Linked DNA regions of Homo sapiens: region 1 is linked to region 2. Evidence: promoter capture Hi-C in human tissues and cell types (Jung and others, 2019). All regions are on one chromosome and are shown on one strand. Each heading gives the region's core, a stretch centred on a gene start or on the middle of the fragment in contact. The rest is flanking DNA. Distances are from core to core; before and after follow the strand shown.

Region 1 (5,570 bases), core at 2,810-5,309, 590 kb before region 2:
TCATGTGTATTTTTCAAAAATTACTGATTCTATCTCTTTATTTGTTATAGGTCTGTTAATATTTTCTATTCCTTCTCAAGTCAGTTTTGGTGATTTGTGAGTTTCTAGGAATTTGTCCATTTCATCCAAGGTTATCTAATTTGTTGGTGTAAAATTGTTCATAGTATTCTCTTATAATTTTTTTAGTTCTGTAAGGTTGGTGGTGATGTCCCACTCTAATTTCTGATATTAGTTATTTGTGTCTTTTCTCTTTTCTTCTTAGTCAATCTAGCTAAAGATTTTCAATTTTATTGATCTTTTAAAAAAACCAAGCTTTGGTCTTGTTGATTCTTTTTATTGGTTTTCTATTTCCTATTCCATTTTTCTGTGCTCACATGTTTATTATTTCCTTCCTTCTGCTAGCTTTGGGTGTATTTGTTCTTCTCTTTCTAGTTTCGTATGATGTAAAGTTAGGTTGCAGATTTGAGATCTTTTTTTTTTTTTTTTTTTTTGAGACGGAGTCTTGCTCTGTCGCCTAGGCTGGAGTGCAGTGGCGCGATCTTGGCTCACTGCAACCTCTGCCTCCTGGGTTCAAGCGATTCTCCTGCCTCAGACTCCTGAGTAGCTGGGACTACAAGGCTCATACCACCATGCCCAGTTAATTTTTGTATTTTTAGTAGAGGTGGGGTTTCACTGTGTTAGCCAGGATGGTCTCGATCTCCTGACCTCGTGATCTGCCTGCCTCGGCCTCCCAAAGTGCTGGGATTACAGGCGTGAGCCACTGCGCCTGGCCGTGCTCTTTTTTAATGTAAGTATTTACAGTTATAGATTTTCTACCCTGAGAACTACTTTTACTGCATCTCATAAGTTTTTGGATGTTGTGTTTTGTGTTTTCATTTTCATTCATCCGAAAGTTTTTTTTCTAAGTAGTTGGGACTACAGGTGCATACCACCATGCCCAGTTAGTTAGTTTTTTGTAGAGACAGGGTCTTTTTATGTTGCCAGGCTGGTCTTGAATTCCTGGGCTCAAGTGATCCACCCACCTCAGCCTCCCAAAGTGCTGGGATTACAGGCATGAGTCAACATGCCTGGCTCAAATTATTTTCTAATTTCCGTTGTGATTTATTCTTTGACTCATTGGTTGTTTTAGAGTGTATTAATTTCACATTTTTGAGAATTTTCCAGTTTTCCTTCTCTTATTGATTTCTAGCTTTGTTCCATTGTGGCTGGAGAAGATAGTTTGTATAATTTCAATCTTTTAAAATGTATTTAGGCTTGTTTTGTGGCCTAACATGTAGTTTATCCTGGAGTATGTTCCATATGTGCTTGAGAAGAATATGCATTCTCTTCTTGTCTTAGGTCTGTCTTAGGTTTATAGTGTTGTTTAGTACCCTATTTCCTTATTGATTTTTCTGTCTACATGTTCTATTCATTATTGAAAGAGGGCCTGGAATGCTTTCCAACACCAACAACCAATTCTCCTATCTCTGGACACCAACTGGGTGTTCCAAAATTTAATTTAATTCTGACACTAACTACTTGAAGTTAGTGCAGACCCCACAGCTTATAGGCTTGATTTCACAAGACTACTCCCAACTTCAGGTGCCAGTTGCAAGTCTTGGGCCTCCTGCACTTTTGATCTACTGGCTATAAATCAGGGGCTCCCACAATCCCATCTGAAAGTTTGATAATTTGCTGAAACAGCTCACAGAACTCAGGAAACACTTTACTTAAGGTTTATCAGTTTATTATAAAGGATACAAATGAATAGCCAGATGAAGTAAATAGGGTGAGCTTCAGAAGGGTCCCAAGCACAGGAATTTCTGTCCTTGTGAGTTGTGTGTGCCACCCTCCTGGCACATGGATGTGTTCACCAATTCAGAAGCTCATCAAATCTTATTGTTTAAGAGTTTTTATAGAGCTTCAACTCCTTCCTTCTTTAACTTCCTGGAGGAGAGTGGGTGGGTCTAAAATTTCCAGACCTCTAATCACTTGACCTTTCTGGTGACCAGCTCCATCCTGAGGCTACCTAGGGGCCCCACTCCAAGTAACCTCATTAGCAGAAACTGAGGTGGAATCGAAAGGGGCTTCTTATGAATATCAAAAGACACACCCATCACTCAGGAAATTCCAAGAGTTTTAGGAACCTTGTGCCAGGAACTGGGGACAAAGACCAAATATATTTCTTATGATGCCATGGTGGGATATTGAACTCTCCAACTATTTTGTAGTGCTTCGTCTCCCTTCAATCCTGTGGTGTTTGCTTCATATATTTTGAAGCTCTATTGCTTGGTGTGTATATGTTTATAATTTTTATATCTTTTTGATGAATTGACCCTTTTATCGATATATAATCATGTTTTTTGTTTCTTTTAACAATATTTGACACAATGTGTATTTTGTTTGACTTTAATATAATAATCACAGCTCTTTTTGCTACTATTTGCCATATGCAGAAAATTGAAACTGGGCCTCTTCCTTATGCCTTATACAAAAATTAACTCAAGATGGATTAAAGGCTTAACTGTAAAACTCCAGACTATAAAAACTCTAGAAGAAAATCTGGGCAATACCATTCAGGACATAGGCATTGGCAAAGATTTCATGACAAAATCACCAAAAGCAATTGCAACAAAAGCAAAAATTGACAAATGGCATCTAATTAAACTAAAGAGCTTCTGTACAGCAAAATAGACTATCATCAGAGTGAACAGACAACCTACAAAATGGGAGAAAATGTTTGCAATCTATCCACCTGACAAACGTCTAGTATCCAGAGTCTACAAGGAACTTAAATTTATAAGAAAAAACAAACAGGAGGAGGAGCCAAGATGGCTGAATAGGAACAGCTCCGTTCTACAGCTCCTAGCGTGAGCGATGAAGAGGACGGGTGATTTCTGCATTTCCATCTGAGGTACCGGGTTCATCTCACTAGGGAGTGCCAGACAGTGGGCGCAGGTCAGTGGGTGCAGCGCACCGTGCGCAAGCCGAAGCAGTGCGAGGCATTGCCTCACTCGGGAAGCGCAAGGGGTCAGGGAGTTCCTTTTCCTAGTCAAAGAAAGGGGTGACAGACGGCACCTGGAAAATCGGGTCACTCCTACCCCAATACTGTGCTTTTCCGACAGGCTTAAAAAACGGCGCACCAGGAGATTATATCCCACACCTGGCTCGGAGGGTCCTATGCCCACCGAGTCTCGCTGATTGCTAGCACAGCAGTCGGAGATCAAACAGCAAGGCGGCAGCAAGGCTGGGGGAGGGGCGCCCACCATTGCACAGGCTTGCTTAGGTAAACAAAGCAGCCGGGAAGCTCCAACTGGGTGGAGCCCACCACAGCTCAAGGAGGCCTGCCTGCCTCTGTAGGCTCCACCTCTGGGGGCAGGGCACAGACAAACAAAGACAGCAGTAACTTCTGCAGACTTACATGTCCCTGTCTGACAGCTTTGAAGAGAGCAGTGGTTCTCCCAGCATGCAGCTGGAGATCTGAGAATGGGCAGACTGCCTCCTCAAGTGGGTCCCTGACCCCTGACTCCTGAGCAGCCTAACTGGGAGGCACCCCCCAGTAGGGGCAGACTGACACCTCACACAGCTGGGTACTCCTCTGAGACAAAACTTCCAGAGGAACGATCAGACAGTAGCATTCGCGGTTCACGAAAAACCACTGTTCTGCAGACACCGCTGCTGATACCCAGGCAAACAGGGTCTGGAGTGGACCTCTAGCAAACTCCAACAGACCTGCAGCTAAGGGTCCTGTCTGTTAGAAGGAAAACTAACAAACAGAAAGGACATCCACACCAAAAACCCATCTCTACATTACCATCATCAAGACCAAAAGTAGATAAGACCACAAAGATGGGGAAAAAACAGAGCAGAAAAACTGGAAACTCTGAAAAGCACAGCACCTCTCCTCCTCCAAAGGAACACAGTTCCTCACCAGCAATGGAACAAAGCTGGACGGAGAATGACTTTGACAAGTTGAGAGAAGAAGGCTTCAGACGATCAAACTACGAGCTACAGGAGGAAATTCAAACCAAAGGCAAAGAAGTTAAAAACTTTGAAAAAAATTTAGACGAATGTATAACTAGAATAACCAATACAGAGAAGTGCTTAAAGGAGCTGATGGAGCTGAAAGCCAAGGCTCGAGAACTACATGAAGAATGCAGAAGCCTCAGGAGCCAATGTGATCAACTGGAAGAAAGGGTATCAGTGATGGAAGACGAATGAAATGAAGCGAGAAGGGAAGTTTAGAGAAAAAGGAATAAAAACAAATGAACAAAGCCTCCAAGAAATATGGGACTATGTGAAAAGACCAAATCTACGTCTGATTGGTGTACCTGAAAGTGACAGAGAGAATGGAACCAAGTTGGAAAACACTCTGCAGGTTATTATCCAGGAGAACTTCCCCAATCTAGCAAGGCAGGCCAACATTCAGATTCAGGAAATACAGAGAATGCCACAAAGATACTCCTCGAGAAGAGCAACTCCAAGACACATAATTGTCAGATTCACCAAAGTTGAAATCAAGGAAAAAATGTTAAGGGCAGCCAGAGAGAAAGGTCGGGTTACCCACAAAGGGAAGCCCATCAGACTAACAGTGGATCTCTCGGCAGAAACTCTACAAGCCAGAAGAGAGTGGGGACCAATATTCAACATCCTTAAAGGAAAGAGTTTCAACCCAGAATTTCATATCCAGCCAAACTAAGCTTCATAAGTGAAGGAGAAATAAAATACTTTATAGACAAGCAAATACTGAGAGATTTTGTCACCACCAGGCCTGCCCTAAAAGAGCTCCTGAAGGAAGCACTAAACATGGAAAGGAACAACCGTTACCAGCCACTGCAAAATCATGTCAAAATGTAAAGACCATGGAGACTAAGAAGAAACTGCATCAACTAACAAGCAAAATAACCAGCTAACATCATAATGACAGGTTCAAATTCACACATAACAATACTAACTTTAAATGTAATGGACTAAATGCTCCAATTAAAAGACACAGACTGGCAAATTGGATAAAGAGTCAAGACCCATCAGTGTGTTGTATTCAGGACACCCATCTCACATGCAGAGACACACATAGGCTCAAAATAAAAGGGTGGAGGAAGATCTACCAAGCAAATGGAAAATAAAAAAAGGCAGGGGTTGCAATCCTAGTCTCTGATAAAACAGACTTTAAACCAACAAAGATCAAAAGAGACAAAGAAGGCCATTACATAATGGTAAAGGGATCAATTCAACAAGAAGAGCTAACTATCCTAAATATATATGCGCCCAATACAGGAGCACCCAGATTCATAAAGCAAGTCCTGAGTGACCTACAAAGAGACTTAGACTCCCACACATTAATAATGGGAGACTTTAACACCCCACTGTCAACATTAGACAGATCAACGAGACAGAAAGTCAACAAGGATACCCAGGAATTGAACTCAGCTCTGCACCAAGCGGACCTAATAGACATCTACAGAACTCTCCACCCCAAATCAACAGAATATACATTTTTTTTCAGCACCACAACACACCTATTCCAAAATTGACCACATAGTTGGAGGTAAAGCTCTCCTTAGCAAATGTAAAAGAACAGAAATTATAAC
Region 2 (5,746 bases), core at 2,131-4,630:
TCTCTGCTTCACGAGACTGCACTCGAGGGGTCGGCCATGGTGGGAGTCTCATCTGAGCCTCAATTAGAGAAGGATCCACTTTCAAATTCACAGGGTTGTTGGCGGAATGTCAGTTCCTTGAGGACTAATGAAGTGAATACCGCAGCTCCTGGCTGGTTGTTGGCTGGAAGTCCTCCTCATTTTCTTACCTTTCCCGCCTGGCAACTTGTTTCATCAAAGCCAGCTGGAAGTCACAACCTTAAGTAACCTAATCAGAGAAGTGACATCCCATCACTTTTGCCATATTCTGTTCATTAGAAGCAGCTCAGTAAGGCCTGTCCACACACAAGGGGAGGGGATTGCACAAGGGCATGAACACCAGGAGGCCGACATCACTGGGAGACATCTTAGAAGATGCCCGTCACATCCAGGTCTACTTAATTCCAAAATTTTCTGTATTTTCTGCAAAATCAAGCTTACTCTGAAGGTAAAACCCCATGGATTCCAATGACTAAACCTGGTCAGGGACTGAGGGAGAATTTGGGGGACAGACCATCCATGGTACATGAAGGACAGGGATGCCCCGTCCTTCCCACCCATAAGGCCCACCTTCCCACTCTTGTGGCTCACAGATTCCACCAAAACTTCATTTACCTCTCACTGTGTAATCTGGGGATGAAACCAGATCCTGGTTTCATTCTCTTCTGCCTTTGGGAAATAGGTCTGTCTTTTCTCTCAATTTTGGAAACCGTCTCTGCAGCTCCAGGGAAAACTCCTGAGTCCTGAGGGGTAGCAAAGGCTGCAGACAAACTCTTAGGCCAGGAAACAGAAGACCTGCTTCTCGGCAAATCTGCCTCAGTTTCCCTGTTGGTCAAATGAGGGAATTGGGCAAGATGCTCACTAAGCAGCTTCCTGCTCTAACTTCTTCTTTCGAGGGAAAAACTAAAGTGGCACAGCCTAGGGCTGTGCTGTCTAATATGGCAGCCACGAGCCATGTGTGGCTACCGAGCACATAAAATGTGACTAGTCCAAACTGAGATATGCTATAGATAAATCTCAAAAAATCTCTCTCAAAAAATAAAAAATAAAATAAATTAGTACACTAGATTTATATATGGGAGGCAGAATTCAGATGACCCCTCCTCAATGATCCTCATCCCTGTATAATCTCCTCCTCTTTAAGTGTAGGTGGAACCCGTGAATGTATATTATATGGCAGAAGGGAGAGTGCCCTGGGTGGGCCTGGACTAATCAGGTGAGAGTTTTAAAGCCAGAGATTTTTCTCTGGCTGGTTACAGGAGAGGAATTCAGCACTCTGATGTCCCTGAAAGAAAGCAAGCATTCATGCTATGAACTGCCTATGGGGCAGCTTCTAGAATCTGAGATTGATCCCTCGGAGACAGCTAACAGGAAAAGAGAGACCTCAGTCCTATAACCACAAGGAAATGAATTCTGCCAACAATCTGTGAGCTTGGAAGAAAACTCTGAAGCTCACATGAGAACCTCAACCCTGGCCAACACCTTGGCTTCAACCTGGTGAGACCCTGAGGGTCCAGCCAGGCCATGCCCAGACTTCTGACCTACAGAAACCATGAGATCATAAATTTGTATTGTTTTAAGCTACTAAATTGTGGTAATTTGTTATGTAGCAATAAGAAAAATTAGTACTGGATTTTAGAGACTTAGTACAAAAAAAAGAAAATGTAAAATATCTCAATAATTTCTTTACTGATTCCAATGTTGAAATCATAATATTTTAGATTTAATAAAATATATCACTAAAAATACAGTTGATCCTGAAACAACACGAGTTTGAACTGCTAGTGTCCACTTACATGCAGATTTTTTTCCAATAAATACATTGGAAAATTTTTGGAGATTTGTGACAATTTGAAAAAACTTACAGATGAACCATGTAGACTAGAAATATCAAAAGCCTTAAGAATAAGTTAGATATGTCGTGAATGCCTAAGATATATGTAGATACTATTTATGTGTCAATCGACTGTTTATATTATTGGTAAGGTTTCTGGCGAACAGTAAGTTATTACTAGTTAAGTTTCAGGGGAGTCAAAAGTTATATTCTAATTTTCTAGGCATGGAGGAGTGGTTTCCCTAACCCCCACTGTTTAAGGGGTAACTGTAATTTCGCCTGTTTTTTACTTCTTTAAAATGTTGCAATCAGAAATGTAAAAGGACATATGTGGGCCGGACGCGGTGGCTCATGCCTGTAATCTCAGCATTTTGTGAGGCCAAGGCAGGTGGATCATTTGAGGCCAGGAGTTCAAGACCAGCCTGGCCAACATGGTGAAACCCCTTCTGTACTAAAAATACAAAAATTAGCTGGGCATGGTGGTGCATGCCTGTAATCCCAGCTACTCAGGAGGCTGAGGCAGGAGAATCGCTTGAACCCAGGAGGCGGAGGTTGCAGTGAGCCAAGATTGTGCCACTGCACTCCAGCCTGCAACAGAGTGAGTGAGACTCTATCTCAAAAAATCAAAAATAAAATAAAATAAAATTATATATGTGGCTCACATTATAGGTGTTGGACTGTGCTGGCCTAGAGGACTCAGAAGTCAGCCATGGGACCTCCGGCAAGTCACCACACCTCTCAAAGCAGTTCTTATCTGTGAGATAGGAATAATAGTAGCACTTACCCCACAGATAAATTTGCAGTTTGAGTGAGATTGAGGTCTGTGCTTGACCCAAGGTAAGTACTCAATAAACGTTGGTAATTATCATTATTATTAATAACAATATGTGCAAAGGCTCATATCCAGGCCCTAGTCTCCAGGAGCCTCTCCCCAACCAGGCACACAGCAGCCACACAACAGGTACATGTGTGGGGATTTCACAACCTCTACAAAGCTCTTTGGCACATGTTCTCTGCCCTCACAACCCACTTGGCAGGTGGGAATCAGGAACCCGTGGGCAGGTAAGGACACTGCGCCTCAGGGGTAAAATGATCGTTTCAAGCTTCACAACTCACCTAGGAAGAACCTGGGGCTCCAAGGGAGATGAGGCCACCTTCTACAGCTCCCTAACTCAGATGCCCACGGTCTGAGAAAATGACTGGAGCTCACCCCTAAAATGGGCGACATAAGATCCTGGCCCTGTCAAGTGTGTGTGCCAGGAATAACTGAGATCAATCACTTGCAGCAGCTGAAGTACCCTGGCACATACTAAACACTCAATTAAGTAAATCATGATTACTGTTGTTCCTTTGCCAGAGAAGCTTCTGCTGAAATCCCTCTCTACGGGGAATCCTCACGCCCTAAATGACCCCTCCTTCCCGGCCCGTAACTCCGGAGGATGCCCCTGCAGGTAGGCCCAGTCTCCAGACACCACCACCCCCCAGCCGAGTCAGGAATAGAAACCGCCGCCTCCGGCCGCCAGCGGCCTCACTCCCTCCTCCGGCAGCGATCGATGCGGCCTTCAGCCGCGGGGGACTAGGCAAGGAAGAAGGAAGGAGAGGGCAGCGGGGCCGCCTGCAGCAGGAGGCTCGGCGGGGCCGGCGGGGCAGAGGCGAGACCGAGTATAGCCAGCGGCTCCCAGCCTCGGTGGCTTTGGGACAGACACGCGAGGCGCCCGGGAGGTGCCACCACAGGTAAGGGGCCTCCTTTGGGGAGGGACGTGGCTCCGGGACGGTCCCGGGCAGCCAGAGTGGGAGGCGGGGCTGCCTGGGGCTCCTGGTGCTCTTACCCCCTCTAAGAGACCCCCCACCCCCCGCCAAGGAGGAAGCAGTGTGGGGTGGCCGCGCTTTGGAGACCCTGGCTGGTACAGTTTGCTCATCTGTAAAATGGGATTAGAAAACCTCCCTGGCAGGGTTGGTGTAGGGATTAAACCGAGTGAGGTGTGCATGGAGCCCAGAGGAGTGACTAGCAGATAGGAGGTGCTCAAAATAAGTGTGTGGAGAGAGAATGAAATAAAAAAACCTGGTCTCCAACCTTAGCTGTGCCATGGACTAGCTGGGTGATTTTGAACAAGTCACTTGGTCTTTCTTACTGATATTCAGGTTCTTGTCAGAAAATGTTTGTTGAATTAATTATCCTGTTTCATAGAGCAGGAAAGTGAGCTCCTGATGGATGAAGGGATTTGCCCAATATTATGCTTCTAATGGGTGATGGAACTGGATTAGAAATTTCATTTTTTGATGCCAAATGCAGGTGGAGATCCAAGTGGAGGTGGGAGCGGAGCTACATCACACGTTTATTGTGCATTGATTATGTGCCAGGGACCATGCTGCCGATAAACACCTTGCATCATTTAATTCTCTGAGCCTCTCCTGGAAAGTATGATGCTACCCGGTTCCACAGACAGGGAAACAAGCCCAGAGAGGGCGACGAATGCACTCAAGGACAGCAGCTAGTAAGTGGTAGACTCAGGTCTGACCACAGGGAAGTACACAGGATTAACATTTATTGAGCATCTACTGTTTTCCCAGGGCTTTGACATATACCACAATAATGATGCATCCAAAGCAACATTATCCCCATTCTAGAGGTAAAAGAGCTAAAGCCCAGAGTGGGAAGGAGACTGGCCTGAGGTCACACAAGTGATAGAGCTAAGGGTGGAACCCCAAATCCATTTAATGCCAAGCCCAGGTGCTTTACACACACTTAATCCCTAGTCTAGGCATTACTGAACCCACAGTGCAAATGAGATTGCCAGTGGTGAGGAGGTGTCACTAGCCCCCAATTCCAGCAGAGTCAGGAGTCAGTGGGTAGTGGAAGAACCTAAATCCTTCCTGAGTATCCACTAAGGCTGAGCACTTTCTATAATCTACCTTAATCCTCCAGTCATCCCTGGAGGTAGGTGCTATTATCTACGTTGTGCAGGAAATTGAGACCTGGAGGACAAATAGCTTCCTCAAGGCCCCAGGTGCGTCAGGGGTGGAGATAAACCCAGGTTTGCCTGACTCCAGAAGATAGTGACACCAGTGAATAATTTATTAAATTCCTTCTGTGAGCCAAGCCCAAGAAAGACACTAGGTCATTTAATCTTCATAACCACACTTTGAGGTGAATATTTTTATTTCCATTTCACAGAGGCTCAGAGAGGTGATGTTACTTGCCTAAGGTGACACAAGAGAGTCAAGATTCAAGGTCAGGTCTGGCTGACTCTACAGATGCTTTACATAATCTAAAGCAGGAGCTCTCAAACTTGACTATGTAGCCGAATCACTTTCCAATCTTGTTAGAACACAAAGTGCTAGACCCCACCCTTAGAGTTCCCGATTCAGTAAATCGATGGCAGGCTGAGAATTTGCATCTTTGACAAATTCCCAGGTGATGCTGATGCTGCTGGTCCGGGGAACACACTATGAGAACCTCCGGTCTAAAGTGGTGCTGCCAACACCCCTAGGAGGTAAGTGTTACTATCCTCATTTTGCAGAAGAAACAGGTTCAGAGGGCTGGCGGGCCCAAGATCCCACAGTAGACCTTTGGTGTAAATAAATCCAAGTTTGTCCTGGAAAAGGAGACATCCTATGTGAGCACCCACTAGGTGCCAGGACATCCTGCGATTCCATCGCTTTCATATCCTTCCAGGTAGATCTCAGCATTTACTTTCCAAAGGAGAAAAATGAAATGGGGGTGGGGTGGGTCAGTGATTTGGCCAAAGTCAAATGATGGGGATGAAGGATAGTCAAAGCCAGGCCTGACTCTGAGTCCAGAGGGCACCTGACATCTACTGAGCGCCTCCTGCATACCAGATGCTTCACACACAGCCTCCAACACCCCTTGGCTGGTTGGATGGAGGAGGGGAT

Evidence for each region. Contacts are between HindIII fragments. The study calls those that stand out against the background at their distance.
Region 1: a contact is called between a fragment that was not itself captured here and the fragment with the promoter of KCNS1 in region 2, in 1 of the 25 tissues and cell types used here (spleen).

The regions. Positions count from the first base shown.
Region 1 is chr20:45,691,207-45,696,776 of GRCh38, reverse strand. All of the region lies in intron 2 of WFDC10B (WAP four-disulfide core domain 10B), which reads left to right. Among named protein-coding and RNA genes, the nearest start is that of WFDC13, 8.0 kb to the left of the region's middle. The HindIII fragment of the contact is 3,126 bases long and covers 2,497-5,570 here.
Region 2 is chr20:45,098,761-45,104,506 of GRCh38, reverse strand. KCNS1 (potassium voltage-gated channel modifier subfamily S member 1) reads left to right here and starts at 3,380. Exons shown (of 4, transcript NM_001322799.2): 1 at 3,380-3,586; 2 at 5,268-5,346. The coding sequence starts at 5,271. The HindIII fragment of the contact is 6,202 bases long and covers 1,706-5,746 here.